Linked DNA regions of Homo sapiens: region 2 is linked to region 1. The links are contacts of gene promoters, found by promoter capture Hi-C in blood cells and fetal thymus (Javierre and others, 2016). All regions are on one chromosome and are shown on one strand. Each heading gives the region's core, a stretch centred on a gene start or on the middle of the fragment in contact. The rest is flanking DNA. Distances are from core to core; before and after follow the strand shown. Region 1 holds the start of ZNF101 (zinc finger protein 101). Region 2 overlaps ZNF253 (zinc finger protein 253).

The links. Contacts are between HindIII fragments. The CHiCAGO score rates a contact against its expected background, and 5 or more counts as called.
Region 2: a fragment that was not itself captured here is called in contact with the fragment with the promoter of ZNF101 in region 1 in 3 of 17 cell types (total CD8 T cells, non-activated CD4 T cells and naive CD8 T cells); the score reaches 6.5 in total CD8 T cells.

What each region holds. Positions count from the first base shown.
Region 1 is chr19:19,667,398-19,670,331 of GRCh38, forward strand. ZNF101 (zinc finger protein 101) reads left to right here and starts at 1,442. Exons shown (of 4, transcript NM_033204.4): 1 at 1,442-1,569. The coding sequence starts at 1,567. RefSeq lists enhancers at 1,131-1,697, 1,698-2,263 and a silencer at 1,652-1,851. The HindIII fragment of the contact is 10,038 bases long and covers 1-2,934 here.
Region 2 is chr19:19,888,298-19,891,231 of GRCh38, forward strand. All of the region lies in intron 3 of ZNF253 (zinc finger protein 253), which reads left to right. Among named protein-coding and RNA genes, the nearest start is that of ZNF93, 11 kb to the right of the region's middle. The HindIII fragment of the contact is 211 bases long and covers 1,423-1,633 here.

The DNA of each region.
Region 1 (2,934 bases), core at 192-2,691:
AGAATCTCTTGAACCTGGGAGGCAGAGGTTGCAATGAGCTGAGATCGTGCCACTGCACTCCAGCCTGGGCGACAGAGCCAGACTCCGTCTCAAAAAAAAAGAAAAAAAAAGTGGTTTACTCCAGTTTTTCCCTGCATTTAATAATTTTGTTCCCTTTAAGGCATGTTTTTATTTTCTTGGCTGAAAAGGAGTAGCCTGAGAAGAAGTAACGTGTAGGAAGCCTTGGCCATGGGACCAATAGCCTCATAAATTCCTGATCTCTGGAGGACATCAGGGCCTCCTACCTGTTCCATTGTGACCTGGGAGTCTCTCCAGCTCCAAGGTGGAGGGATGGCTTCACTGAACACGGAGTCTGGAATTCCGTGCACACTCATGTGACCGGTGTTCCGGAAAAAGAAGCAGGAGGCGGCTGGGCGCGGTGGCTCACGCCTGTAATCCCAGCACTTTGAGAGGCCGAGGCCGGCGGATCACGAGATCAGGAGTTCGAGACCAGCCTGGCCAACATGGTGAAACCCCATTTCTACTAAAAATACAAAAATTAGCCGGGAGTGGTGGTGGGCGCCTGTAATCGCAGCTACCCGGGAGGCTGAGGCAGGAGAATCGCTTGAAACCGGAAAGCGGAGGTTGCAGTTAGCTGAGATCGTGCCATTGCATTCCAGCCTGGGCAACAAGAGCGAAACTCCGTCTCAAAAAAAAAAAAAAAAAGCAGCAGGAAGGACCCACTGAGTACAGGAAGCCGACAGGGCCTGCTCCGGAAAACCAGGAGCTGTAAGGTCAGCCGAAAGGACGAAGAGACCTGAAGTCAGTCAAGTAAGTTTTATTAACCTGCTGGGCTGCTCCCCCACAGTTAGAGGAGGCAGCCCCGCTTACAGACTACAGCAGGGCTTTATAGGGCGAGGAACTGGGCTGGGGTGTGAGAACTGAGTCGGGGGTGCAGGTGTCCTGACCGCATCCTGGAGATGTTTTTGCCAGCTTTGTTATGCAAGGTGGGCAGGTGTTGTGACCGCATCCTGGAACTGTCTGCCGGTTCAGCTGAAGTCTTTTGAACAAACAGTTACTGGAAGGGTCAGTGGGGAGGAGGTCTACTTCTAGCCCGGGGGGAGTTGTGTGGCGGTCACAAAGGACTGTATTGTAAGACTGATGGGGGAAGGAGGGGAACAGTCTGGTTGGGTTGACCCTAACGGGAGCAAGTTCTGCTTCCATGCAAGTCCAGGTCCAAGGTCCCAGCGAGGGGCTGTGGGTAGCACCTGTCAGTCACACCCCACACAGCGAGCGGATTATTTGAGGATTCCGATCACCTCTCCTGTCGCTCAAGCCCCAGGGGCGGGACCTGGGGCACCAGCCAGTCAGAGGCGCTGTGCGGCAAACTGTCCAATCAGGTGCGCCGGGAGGAGGGGCAACTTCCAAAGCCCGAAGCGGTCTCATTTCCCGCCGGCCCCCCATTCGGGTCCGGGTTTTAGTTCCTCGGGGAGCCCCTGGTGCCCCGGATACGGCTGATTTTGTCGTGTGGGACCTGTTCTGGCTGCTCCAGCCCCAGGAAGGACCCAGGACACCCGGAAGCCGGAAATGGTGAGCGTGCGGAGCCGGGCGTCCGGAGACCTGAGGAGGAGCTGGTCGGAACCGGCAGTGGCTGGACCTGGGCCTCCCCGCGGCGACTGTGGGGGTCTGGGACCCGAGTCCCCCAGGCGCAGCTCGACCCTTGGTCCCCTCGGTCGCCGGGTGGAGCTGGACCAGCCGCCGGGACCCCGGGTGTCCTGTCCCGGCCCCGGAGCCCTCTCAGGGCAGCTCCGCGCCCGCAGCCCCGCGTCTCCCCAGATCGTGCGGGGGCCTCAGGAGGGTCTTAGGGGGAATCCCGCCTCGGGTGTGGGGTTCGTGCGGGAGGAGCCGTGGCCTGTGGGGTCCCCAGTTCCTCCTCCCTTAGGCGGTCCCCGTTTCCTTCGGAGTCTTCCAAAGGTGTGGGAAGCTGGGTTTCAAACCCACGACCCCGTCCCCCAGCTTCGCTCCTCCCAGGGCTGCAGTAAATCCCTAAATTTCCCCGCATTCCCCAACCCTAAGTTCTCCCTCCAGTACATCCACTTCACATTATTATTATTATCATTATTTCTATTATTTTTGAGACGGAGTCTCACTCTGTCGCCCAGGCTGGAGTGCAGTGGCACTGTCTGGGCTCACTGCAGCCTCCGTCTTCCGGGTTCAAGTGATTCTCCTGCCTCAGCCTCCTGAGTAGCTGGAATTACAGGTGCCCGCCACCACGTCCGGCTAACTTGTATTTTCAGTAGAGACAGGTTCACCATGTTGGCCGTGCTGAAGTCCTGATCTCAGGTATCTGCCTGCCTCGGTCTCCCAAAGTGCTGGGATTACAGGCTTGAGCCACTGCGCCTGGCAAGACCCAGTGTTTTAACTGTCATCTTTTCCAAGGAGCCCTAGATGGCACTTCTTAAAAAGTTCATTTTCCGTTTGTGAACATTTCACATGCGAGCAAAGCAGAAAATAACCCCCTGACACTCCGATGTTAAAAAAAAAAAATCACTGTGCCTGCCCTCTTTTTACCTTCCCTAGGCGCGGCCACCTTATCAGACAGTCTTTGGGTGGAGGCTTCTCTTGGGAACTTCACAGGGTATTGGGTCCTCAGCCCACCCTCCTATCTTTCTGGTCCTGGGTTTCAGGACCGTCCAGGGACTTCTTCCAGCTGCCCTCGGAAGAACGGGTGAAAAGTCTGTCCTGGCGTGGTTAATCTTTCCTGGTTGTTTGATGAGCCTCCTAGGGAGGAGTTCTTGTCTTTTGAAAAGAAGTTTCCTTAGGAAATTCCAGAGGGATTCCCTGCTGGCCCTTGGGGGTGGGGTGGGGCCAGAAACAGTAGAAAGAAACTTCTCCCTTCTGAGGCAGCTCAGGGTGGCATGCAGTGGCACAGTCATGGCTTACTACGGCCTCAAC
Region 2 (2,934 bases), core at 278-2,777, 220 kb after region 1:
CAGTGATTCACCCGCCTTGGTCTCCCAATGTGCTGGGATTACAGGCGTGAGCGACTGCGCCTGGCCAACGTTATTTTATTGTTTTATTTGATTCTTTTATCTTTGTCTCTTTTTCTCTTTCTGTCTTTTTGTGTTTTTTTTTTATTTTTGTATTGATATGCTTTTAATTTTTTTCTTATTTTCTTTTGTGTATCTAGGCAGGTAGTTTCTTAGTGGTATCTAGGGGATTACATAAAACCTCTAAAAGATCCAACAATATACTTTAATGCAGTAAAAAATTAACTTCAGTTGCATGCAAACATTCTTCATTACATCTGCCTTCAACTTTGTTATTGATTTTGCTAATTCTACTTATGTTATATATTCATTAACAGATGTTTATAATAATTCCTCTACTTCCATCTTTTGCATTTTAGAGAATAACTAAAAGTGCTTTCTGTGCCATTATGATAATAAGTAAGGAATTCTATTTTTGTGTATGTGCATATCTTCTCCAGAAAGTTATGTATTTTCATATGATCATGTGTTGTTTTCTTGTATTATGTTATTTTCAGTGGAAGAAACTTCTTTCAGCATCTTTGATAGGTAGGGCATATGCAGTGCCAATATACTTTCTTAGGATTTGGTTATTTTGGAAGGACTCCTTTTTATATGATAGTACAATTTTGCCGATGGTATTATTTTCTGCAAAAATTTTTTTTGATAAATTCACTGGTTATCTTATAAGACTATGCTTATAAATGACACATCATTTTTATCTTGCAGCACCCAAAATTCTTTTCTTATCTGTGATTTTTGAAATTTTGCTTATAGGTGTGTTTGTGATAAATATCTTTTTGTGTATCCTAGTTTGTTCAGCTTCTTCATGTTTACATTATTTTTTCTTTTAAGAAATTTTTAAGTTATTTTTATATTTTTTATATCCATAATTTTTGTTTTTTTCTATTTTAATATTTTTTCTTGTTTATCCTCATTTTTCTGATCTTCAGTAGTCGTCTGTGTTCCTATTTCACTTACTGAATATCATTCAATTTCTTTTATGTAATTAATTAATTTATTTATTTTCTGAGACAGAGTCTCACTCTGTTGCCCAGGCTAGAGTGCAGTGGCATGATCTTGGCTCACTGTAACCTACCCCTCCCAGGTTCAAGTGAGTCTCCTGCCTCAGCCTCCCAGTAGCTGGGATTACAGGTGCATGCTGCCACATTTGGCTGATTTTTGTATTTTTAGTAGAGATAGGCTTTCACTCTGTTGGCCAGGCTGATCTTGAACTCCTGACCTCAAATGATCCACCCACCCCAGCCTCCCAAAGTGCTGGGATTACAGGCATGAGCCACTGTTCCTGTCCTACTTTATTTTTTTTTTGAGACAGGCTTGCTCTGTTGCCCAGCCTGGCCAGCAGTGGTACAGTCACTCACTGCAAGCTTCCCATCTTGGGTTCAAGCAGTTCTCGTGTGTCAGTCTCCTACGTGGCTGGGATTACAGGCACATGCCACCACGCCCAGCTAATTTTTGTATTTTTAGTAGTTACAGGGTTTCACCATGTTGGCCAGGCTGGTCTCAAACTCCTGACCTCATGTGATTTTCCTACCTTGGCTTCCCAATGTGTTAGAATTACAGGAATGAGCTTCCAAGCTTGGCCTGTTCAATTTATTCTGAATTTTAAAAATTACTTTATTCACTTTTTATGGCTGCTTTTGAAAATTTTATAATTTTTTTGATGGGCCATGCTGCCCAAATATTTTGTATACATTGTAATCTTTGAGTGAGATTCAGGCATTAACAAAAAGCTACCTGTGCCAATCTTTATAATATAGTTTTGTCCTTGTGTAGTCTGAAATCAATTGTTTTGGCTAGAGATTCTGGGAATTTCTCAAACATGTTTTTAGGATGTGTCTTGTCTAAAATTTTGTGTTTATTGTTTAGTTAAATCGGCTTATTCATATTTCTTCCTAATAATCAGTAATCACTTGCTACAGCCATTCCTGTTTGGATTACTGCAGTTTCTCTGCTTCTGTAACATTTACCTTTAGACTCAGCAGACTCAAACTGTCATTCTAACATATCACTGTTTCAGCATTTTATGTCATGGGAGACATTAGCCGGTGTCTAAAAAAGTTCATAGATGCCAGAAATAAAGATGTATGTGCCAATATTTTTCTTATTTTTAAAAAAGAAACCAGGAGTTGGCAATTTATATTTGTGTGTGTGTGTGTGTGTGTGTGTGTGTGTGTGTGTGTGTGTGACAGAGTCTCACTCTCTTACCTAGGCTGGAGTGCAGTGGCAAAAATCTTAGCTCACTACAATCTCCGTCTCCACAGTTGAAGCAATTCTCCTGCCTCAGCCTTCAGGTAGCTAGGATTACAGGTACCTGTTACCATGCCTGGCTAATTTTCTGTATTTTTAGTTGAGATGGGGTTTCACCATGTTGGTCAGGCTGGTCTCAGTCTCCTCACCTTAGGTGATCCACCTGCCTTGCCTTACCAAAGTGCTGGGGTTACAGGCATTAGCCATCATGCCTGGCCAACAATTTAATTTTTTTTTTTTTTTTTTTTTTTTTTTGAGATGGCGTCTCACTCTGTTGCCCAGGCTGGAGTGCAGTGGTGCAATCTTGGCTCACTGCAGTCTTTGCCTCCCTGGTTCAAGCAATTCTCTGCCGCAGCCCTCCGAGTAGCTGGGATTAAATGTGCCCGCCACCATGTCTGGCTAATTTTTTGTATTTTTAGTAGAGACAAGGTTTCACCATCTTGGCCAGGCTGGTCTTGAACTCCCGACCTCATGATCCACCCACCTCAGCCTCCCAAAGTGCTGTGATTACAGGCGTGAGCCACCATGCCCAACTGGCAATTTACTTTTAAAAGCACAATGTTATACTGGGCAGCAGGAAGAGCTGTGTTGGGTATAACTAACAGAGCTTTCTTTTTCTTCTATGTG